Linked DNA regions of Homo sapiens: region 1 is linked to region 2. Evidence: promoter capture Hi-C in human tissues and cell types (Jung and others, 2019). All regions are on one chromosome and are shown on one strand. Each heading gives the region's core, a stretch centred on a gene start or on the middle of the fragment in contact. The rest is flanking DNA. Distances are from core to core; before and after follow the strand shown. Region 1 holds the start of NUP160 (nucleoporin 160). Region 2 overlaps DDB2 (damage specific DNA binding protein 2).

What was found. The method cuts DNA at HindIII sites, captures the fragments that hold promoters and counts their contacts. A contact is called where the count stands out against the background at its distance.
Region 1: the fragment with the promoter of NUP160 here is called in contact with a fragment that was not itself captured in region 2 in 1 of the 25 tissues and cell types used here (hippocampus).

The regions. Positions count from the first base shown.
Region 1 is chr11:47,846,162-47,850,339 of GRCh38, reverse strand. It overlaps NUP160 (nucleoporin 160), which reads left to right and starts at 1,990. Exons shown (of 36, transcript NM_015231.3): 1 at 1,990-2,121; 2 at 2,381-2,492. The coding sequence starts at 2,022. RefSeq lists enhancers at 1-30, 1,493-2,052. The HindIII fragment of the contact is 15,264 bases long and covers 1-4,178 here.
Region 2 is chr11:47,231,795-47,236,312 of GRCh38, reverse strand. It overlaps DDB2 (damage specific DNA binding protein 2), which reads right to left. Exons shown (of 10, transcript NM_000107.3): 4 at 3,354-3,499; 5 at 1,641-1,740; 6 at 1,379-1,556; 7 at 901-1,043. Among named protein-coding and RNA genes, the nearest start is that of ACP2, 15 kb to the left of the region's middle. The HindIII fragment of the contact is 6,251 bases long and covers 1-4,518 here.

The DNA of each region.
Region 1 (4,178 bases), core at 741-3,240, 610 kb before region 2:
TTTTATTAGAGATGGGGGTATGTTGCCCAGGCTTGTCTTGAACTCCTGGCCTCAAGCCATCCTTCCATCTCAGCCTCTGCTTTAATTTTCTAAATGAAGAAGCAAGCTGAGAGTCAGGATGACAAAGGAGGCAATGGAGGTTATAGGAGTTATGAAATATTCATTTAGAACAGTAAATGGAGAAGGCAAATACAATGTGTTTGCTGGGCAGCATTATGGGCCCACTCAAGGTACATGGTCCTGATGGAGTTACAGGGAGGCATGTCAGTATGGGTGTATAGTTTTCTGTTTTCTTTCTTTTCTTTTTTTGAGACGGAGTTTCGCTCTTGTTGCCCAGGCTGGAGTGCAACGGCGAGATCTTGGCTCACTGTAACCTCCACCTTCCGGGTTCAAGCGATTCTCCTGCCTCAGCTTCCCAAGTAGCCGGGATTACATGAGCGCACCATCATGCCCAGCTAATTTTTCTTTTTTTCTTTCTTCTTTTTTTTTTTTTTTTTGAGACAGTCTCGCTTTGTCACCCAGGCTGGAGTGCAGTGGCGCGATCTTGGCTCGCTGCAACCTCCACCTCCCAGGTTCAAGCGATTCTCCTGCCTCAGCCTCCCGAGTAGCTGGGATTACAGGCGTGCACCACCATGCCCGGCTAATTTTTTGTATCTTTAATAGAGACAGGGTTTCACCATGTTGGCCAGGTTGGTCTGAAACTCCTTACCTCGTGATCCACCCACCTCTGCCTCCCAGAGCGCTGGGATTACAGGCGTGAGCCACCGCGCCCGGCTAATTTTTCTATTTTTGGTAGAGACCGGGTTTCACCATGTTGGCCAGGCTGGTCTCGGACTCCTGACCTCAAGTGATCCTCACGCCTTGGCCTCCCAAAATGCTGGGAGCCACGCCCGACCCGGGTGTATAGTTTTCTCCAGTCATGTTCAGCTACAGATTTGAATGTAGTCGAAGTTGTAGTTTTTACCGATGAAGAGTTAGGCAATGAAGTAATTTAATGGTATTCAGGATAAGAAAGAAACACCAAAGAAGTGTGGGACAGTGAAGATTTTGTAGAACAATGGATTCCAGGTAGAATGAGGGGACTGCACTGCCAAAGTTGGTGTCCCAGAGGGAGTGAAGTGGAAAGATAGAAAATGATGGTCGGAACCAGATAAATGAAACGGAGAATGACAGGGAATGGTTGTGGTCACTGGTAATAGAAGTGCTTTAACTTCTATTGGCTATCACTAAGGAACAAAACCTTCCCCGCTGGAGATTAGCATTTTCCTCGATTTTGAACATCTACTCCCACAATATCTTCTAAACACCCACTATGGGCCCTTACTGCATTGACAGCCAAGTGCAAGATCACGGGTGGAAGGAATGGCAAATTCCTTTCACGTATCCAAGTGAGTAGCACTCAGGTAACCTCAGCAAGTGGCAGCACCAAGGTTTACCACATTACGTTTCATTATACAGGAATACACGAATACAGTCTCTTGGGGAGGGGAAAGACCAAAACCAAAGGCCTTTCCCTCACTACCCCTTCCTCACCCCGCCATCCCAAGTGTCGCCACTGAAGAGCGAAGGGAGGATCGCCAAAGATTTACAGACGGACACCCTAACCGAGGGAGAGGTGACCATAAACCCGGGATCCGGCAGAGGACGCCGAAAGGCCGGGACTCCCCGGACCTCGCCCCTCCTGGTCGACTGAGCCCCGCGTTTTAGAAACAGAAACAAACCCGGCCCCGCCCCCTGCCCTGCGGCCGCTGAGAAAAGAGCACCGCCCTCCGGAGGCGTTCCAGCCGGCCACTGGAAGGTTCCCGCAGATAGAGTCTGCCTCCCCTGCCCCCTTCTCTTCTGGATTCCTCGCTGCCCACCCTCATTCTCCCGGTGGAAGCCTCGCAACGAAGGGCCGGAGCCGCCTTTCTGCTCCCGGAATGCTTCACCTGTCCGCAGCTCCGCCCGCCCCACCCCCGGAAGTGACGGCGACCGCGCGGCCCTGCCTTTGTTCCGTTGGGCGTCGCGGCGACGGCGGGAAGATGGCGGCGGCGGGAGCCCTGGAACGGAGCTTCGTGGAGCTAAGCGGAGCTGAGCGCGAAAGGCCGAGGCACTTTCGGGAATTCACAGTCTGCAGCATTGGTACGGAAATGGCCAGGGAGGGTGCGATCCCATCTGTCCCCTCGGGCTCCTCTCATGGGTCCCAGGGTCCCTGACGCCCTGTTTCATCCTCCTGAGTCCACATGCCTCTAGCCCCGGGATCAGAGATTCCTTGATGTCCGACGTTTTCCTCTTTTCTTTGTATGGGTTGTCAGTCTGTCACTCTCTGCTTTGTCAGCTCCCTTAGTCCCTGTCATTTCTCAGAAGACGCGTGTGCAGGCTGACCACGTTCATTTTGCAGGGACTGCAAATGCCGTGGCTGGCGCCGTAAAATACAGTGAAAGCGCGGGAGGCTTTTACTACGTGGAGAGTGGCAAGTTGTTCTCCGTAACCAGAAACAGGTTCATTCATTGGTAAGTGTTGTGGTTCGCCAAACTCCCCTGGAAGGTAGGGTTTGGTGTATAAATTTTCGTCGCTGTACCCAAAGTGCTATTCTAGAAGCGGTAATTGACACTTAGGGAAAGAGAAAGATTGTTTTTTCAGTTCGTATCAGAATCGGGAAAACTGAGACACAGAGTTCTAGAAGAGATACCTCTCCCCCTCCCCCCCCCCACCCCCACACACACATACACCAAGCAACACCAGAAGCAGAGGAAATGTAGCTTAGGGGAATAAAGCCCATAAGACCAATTTTAAACATGAACCCGTTATGTTTTTATAGTGCTTTACAGCTTCCTTCATTGTACAAATACGTTCGAGCTTCAATATGTCAGGCATTGTGCTAGGTACCAGGACGAAATGAACAAAACTGCAATTTTCATCATGCAAGACGTTGTAGCAATGTCAGAATAGATGTAGACCCACTTTTCATGGGGAAATTTTTTGGAGGAAAACTTGCCCTAGAGGAAAAATATACGGGTTATGAGAGGCTAATAAGAGGACCAAATATAATTAGTGGGGCAGGGAAAGGCTTTAAGGAATTCACAGTTACCCTGAGATCTAAAGGACACGAGGTTAGCCAGGCATGGGGAGTGGACAGAGAGGAGTCCAGCAAGTAGGATCACCATATGCAAAGGTCATGAAGTGGAAAGAATGTGGCGGGTTTGGAACTGACCAAAGATCTGTGTGGCTTAAGTGCAGTGGGTAAAACAGAAAGTGATGTGAGATACTGAGGCTGGAGAGGTAGGCAGGACTCGGACCATGAGGGACCCTTAGGCCATTTTTAAGGATTTTTGGATTTTATCCTAAGTACATTGAGTAATAATTGAAAGATTTTTAAAGAGTTACTAACATCAAAATTGCATTTTTGGATGGGAACAGTTAACACTAGGGATTCCAAAAGGAGGGAGGGAGGGGAGCAAAGGTTGGAAAACCTATCGGATACTGTGTTCACAACTTGGGCGGCAGGATCATCAGAAGCCCAAACCTCATGTATATAGGAATATACACACAATATACTCATGTAACAAACCTGCACATGTACCCCTGAATCTAAATTTTTTTAAATGTATTTTTAGAAGATCTCAGTCTACTTTGTGGAAAGTGGATTTGGATTAGATGGGTATAATACAAAAAAAATTTTGCTTTTATCATGGCCCAAGTAAGGGTTGCTGGTGGCTCAATTGTGGGAATGACTAGAAATAGAAAAGTAGATGGATTCAAGATACCTTTGGAAGATAGATTCACTAGGGCTTGGTGGTGGATTGAATATGGGGTAAGGGATGGTAAAAGAAGAGAGAACAAGGACAGCTCCCTGGTGTCTCATGTGACTAACCAGATGTGAGTGGGGAGGGGTTGCCATTTACAGAGATACCCGGAAGATGGATTTTGGATAGATATGAATAATTCTATTGGACATAGTAAATTTGAAGTACCTGGGGAGCAGCCCTTTGGAAATGTCAAGTAGGCATTGAAGTTTACAGGTCTAAGGCTCAAAAGAGTGACTTTATGTTAGAGATACAAATTTCATTTAATTAAATATTTTGGCTGGGCACAGTGGCTCACACCTGTAATCCCAGCACTTTGGGGGGCTGAGGTGGGAGGATCTCTTGAGGCCGGGAGTTCAAGACCCCATTTCTACAAAAAAAATTTTTTTTTCT
Region 2 (4,518 bases), core at 241-2,740:
GAGAAAAGGTGGGAAAATAAAAGACTTATTTTTATTATTAGAAGCACTGAAACCTGCAAGACAAACTAAGAAGGCAAAGTTGCCAGGCGCAGTGGCTCATGCCTGTAATCCTAGCACTTTGGGAGGCCAAGGTTGGGGGATGGCTTCAACCTAGGAGTTCAAGACCAGCTTGGGCAACATGGCAAAACCCCATCTCTATAAAAAATAAAAAAATTAGCTGGGTATGGTGGCGCATACCTGTAGTCCAATCTACTTCCGAGGCTAAGGCGGAAGGATTGCTTGAACCCAGGAGGTTGAGGCTGCAGTGAGCTATGTTTGTGCCACTGCACTCCAGCCTGGGTGACAGAGCAAGACCGTTTCAAGAAAAAAAAAAAAAAAAAAAAAAAGGATCAGCCTGGGTAACACAAGAATACCCTGTCTCTACAAAAAAAAAAAAAGTGAGGCAGGAGGATCGCTTGAGCCTGGGAGATCAAGGCTGTAATGAACCATGCTTGCCCCACTGTACTCCCACCTGGGTGACAGAGCGAGACCCTGCCTTAAAAAAAATAATAAAAAAATAAAAAATGAAGGTTTGTGGGTCAACTGTACACAGGTAACTGAAGCTGAGAAGACAGAACAGAGGGTCAGGATCTTAGAAAATTCTCACAGTGAGATCAGAGCTGGGCTGAAAAAACTCAGAAAAATATCTTATCAGCGAGACAGAAAACTCAACCATATGGGATGGCAGAAGTGGGATAAAAGGAAGAGAGAGAGCCAATGGGTAAGAGATGCTCTGTGCTCGGGCCAGGAGCGATCTGGGGTGGCAGGCTTACCACATCAGCCCTTCCCCACTGTGGGCAGACCTGCTCCGGCCTCATGATCACAGCCTCCTTCTGCGAGCTCCTTCCCACCGCCACTCACCTTGATGGGTGTGAGGTGCTGGAAGTGACGGTGAGGGTGCGGGATCAGGCCCAGGGGGCAGTCCCACTGGGAAGCAGAGTAAACTCGGATCTCGCTCTTCTGGTCCGTGGTCAGGAGCCGGGCTCCATCGGGACTGAAACAAGCTGGCAAAGTGAAAAGCCCCTGAGCTGAAGGAACCACAAGCCCTCTGTGGTCCTGGCCTTGCAGGCCTTCTCCTGCAGGGGTACTCTCCCTCCCACTCCTCTCTAGACAGGAGCGGAAAGGAAGAGGTGAATCTGGGCTGTGAACAACAACAAAAAAATTCTGGAAACTCAGCAGCTGATGGGGACAGCCACAGCCACAAAGGTTCCCAGACATCAGCTTGGCAGACGCTATCAGGGGTAAAGGTTTGACGTAGTGGCTTCCACACTGAGGGAAAACCCCAGCAGTGGTCAGACAGGCAGGGTCTGCAGGAGAGATGAGGTCTGGGATATCACACCTGCGTTGACAGGATGCCTGTGCGGCAGCGAGTAGAGGAAGCTGGCTTTCCCTCTAACCTGGCGCAGGTCCCAAATTTTCACTGTTTGATCTACGGAGGCTGTGGCCAGGAACCAATCACAGCATGGGTTCAGGGCCACATGCGTCACTTTCTTTTTGTGCATTCTGAGATTCCAAAGCTGCAGAGAAGAGCTCGGTTCAGGTGGGGACACAGAACCGAGGTGGGGGTGAGGGAGGGAAAGGCAGGACCTCGGAGAACGCACCTCTTTGCCGTCCATGTTCAGCAGGATCACGTTCCCCACGTTGTCTCCTGTGACCACCATTCGGCTACTAGCAGACACATCCAGGCTACAAAACCAGATGCTGGAGGGAGAGACTGTGTTGTAAGATTCTTGGGGACAGAGATAGTCCTATTTACTCACTGTTGCCGCTCCGGTGACTAACCCACAGCGGGCATTCAATAAATATTTGTTGAATGAATGAATAACTGTCTTGCCGTGGATTCCTAGTGAGGAACATTCAGACTGCTCTACCGTCCAGACAGAGGGGATGGGATAATGGGGCTCAGAAATCTGTCTGGTTATGGCTGGGCCCAGGATCCCCAGCTCCTAAAAGTCCCTGAAGCAGACAAAGCTTATACCATAAAGCAAGCCCTGAGGCACGCCTGCCCCCCACACCCCGGGTTCTGAGCAAGCCTCCTTTACTGCTCTCTCCTTTCACTCTTCACCCTTTAGGCCAAAGGAGACACAAGCCAAAGAGGGATTGCCTGGCCCTGTTCCTCAGAGCTGGCTAGAAAAGCACTTCTGCCCCCTTCTGAACACTGGGGGAAAAAACACAACCAGGAGCTCTTCTGGTCCCTCAAACCACTGGACTGGGAGGCTGACTAGGAGGGTGCTTCAGGGATCCTGCTATTCAGCCAGAAGAGCTCAGCTCACAGTTTTTCTCTCAAACTCTCAAATCCATGCTACACTGCCTTTTGCCATCCCCTATGAATATCTTCAAGCAGGAAGATTTCTTGCGGAAGAGTAGCCTGGAGCCTTGTCTATCCAATTGCCTGCTGATTTGCGTGCGCATGCACTCCTCATCCCTGCGGGACAGCCCAGGATCCAATCCAATGCTAGTTACACCCCAGCACCCTCACTTAATTCCTCAGGGAGCAGTCAGAGTCACGGCTCTAGCTGGAAATCAAAGTGACGAGTATTCTGTAATTTTTTTTTTTTTTTTTTGAGATAGATTTTCGCTCTTGTTGCCCAGGATGGAGTGCAATGGCGCCATCTCGGCTCACTGCAACCTCTGCCTCCTGGGTTCAAGCGATTCTCTTGCTTCAGCCTCCCAAGTAGCTGGGAATTACAGGGGCCTACCACCACGCCCAGCTAATTTTTTGTATTGTTAGTAGAGATGGGGGTTTCACCATGTTGGCCAGGCTGGTCTCGAACTCCTGACCTCAGGTGATCCACCCACCTTGGCCTCCCAAAGTGCTGGGATTTCAAGCATGAGCCACTGCACCCGGCCGCATTCTGTAATTTCTCCAGCCACTTTCTCTTGGGAAGTCCAGAGCACTTTATGGAAAAGATTCCATCCATATAAGCTTCCACCCAGGAACAGGTCAGGTCATTACACCACAGTGAGTGCAGGGCATTCAGTCTCAAGTTCTGAGCTGTTGCTCCATTCTCTAGGTGGCTTTCTGGGTCCACGCCATGCTGGCTTATCTAGTGAGGGTCAAGGTCCAGTCTAATACAGGTATGACTTACAGAAGAGCTGAGGCTCCAGAACACCTTCCCAAAGCAGTAACCCACCTGGACCAAAGTGAGGGCAGCCAAGGAGCAGTTTGAGAAAGAGAAAGAAGGGCGGAAAGTGGCTGACATCTTTCCTTTCTTCCCTGGGCCAGGTTGGGTTAAGGAAATGGGATCTGGATGCTCTTGCCGGAACTACACCTAAGCTTAGAAGCCCTTTCCCCTGCTAGTTAAACTACTCACTTGATGGTGTCTGAGCTGGCAAAAACTCGTAGAATGTTGCCTTTAAAGTCTTGCAGCCTAGTTGTTCCCTCCATTGAGGAGGCGTAAAACTGGTTGGTATTGAGAGGGTTAAACTTCAGCCCAGTGATGCTCCCTCCAGCTCCAATCTAACACGAGGAAGGAAAAAGCCAGTGAGTGATGATGGGCCTGGCCGTGAGGAACCAGGCCTGGGCACACATGCTGCGCCGTCACAGAAGCACCCCTCGAGCAGCGCTTGGGGCCAGGTCAGCTTAGACACTAGGACGCTCTCTACAGGGCCTTCACTTCTTTTTCTTTTCCTTTGAAATAGGGTCTTTCTCTGTCACTTAGGCTGAAGTGCAGTGGCACAAACACGGCTCACTGCAGCCTCAATCTCCTGGGCTCAAGCGATCCTCCCACCTCAGCCTCCCAAGTGCGTGCCACCATGCCCAGCTAATTTTTCTATTTTTTTTTTTTAAGATGGGGTTTTGTCACGTTGCCCAAGCTGGTCTTGAACTCCTAAGCTCAAGCGATCCCCCTGCCACGGCTTCCCAAAGTGCTAAGATTACAGGCATGAGCCGCTTTGTCTGGCCCCTTCATTTCTTTCTTTTTTTTATTTTTATTTTTATTTTTATGTTTTTGAGATGGAGTCCTGCTCTGTCACGACCTCGGCTCACTGCAACCTCTGCCTTCCAGGTTCAAGCGATTCTCCTGCCTCAGCCTCCCAAGCAGCTGGGATTACAGGTGCCCACCACCACGCATGGCTAAATTGTATATTTTTAGTAGAGACAGGGTTTCACCATGTTGGCCAGGCTGGTCTGGAACTCCTGCCCTCAGGTAATCCGCCACCCTTGGCCTCCCAAAGTGCTGGGATTACAGGCGTGAGCCACCGTGCCCCGCCTCCCTTCATTTCTTAAGGCTTTATTTTTACTTTTTTTTTTAATTAACATATAGCAAATTTGGGATATAAAGTTCTCTGAATTTTAACATATGTATAGACTTAAATAACCACCACCCAAATCAGGATGCAGAACATTTGCAACAGCCCAAAAACTCCATCGTGGTATCCCATTGTAATCACACCCTCCCCTCGCCCCCAGCCCCTGGCTGATCTGTTCTCCATCACTATTGTTTTGCCCTCATAGAATGTCCTATAGACCGAGCACAG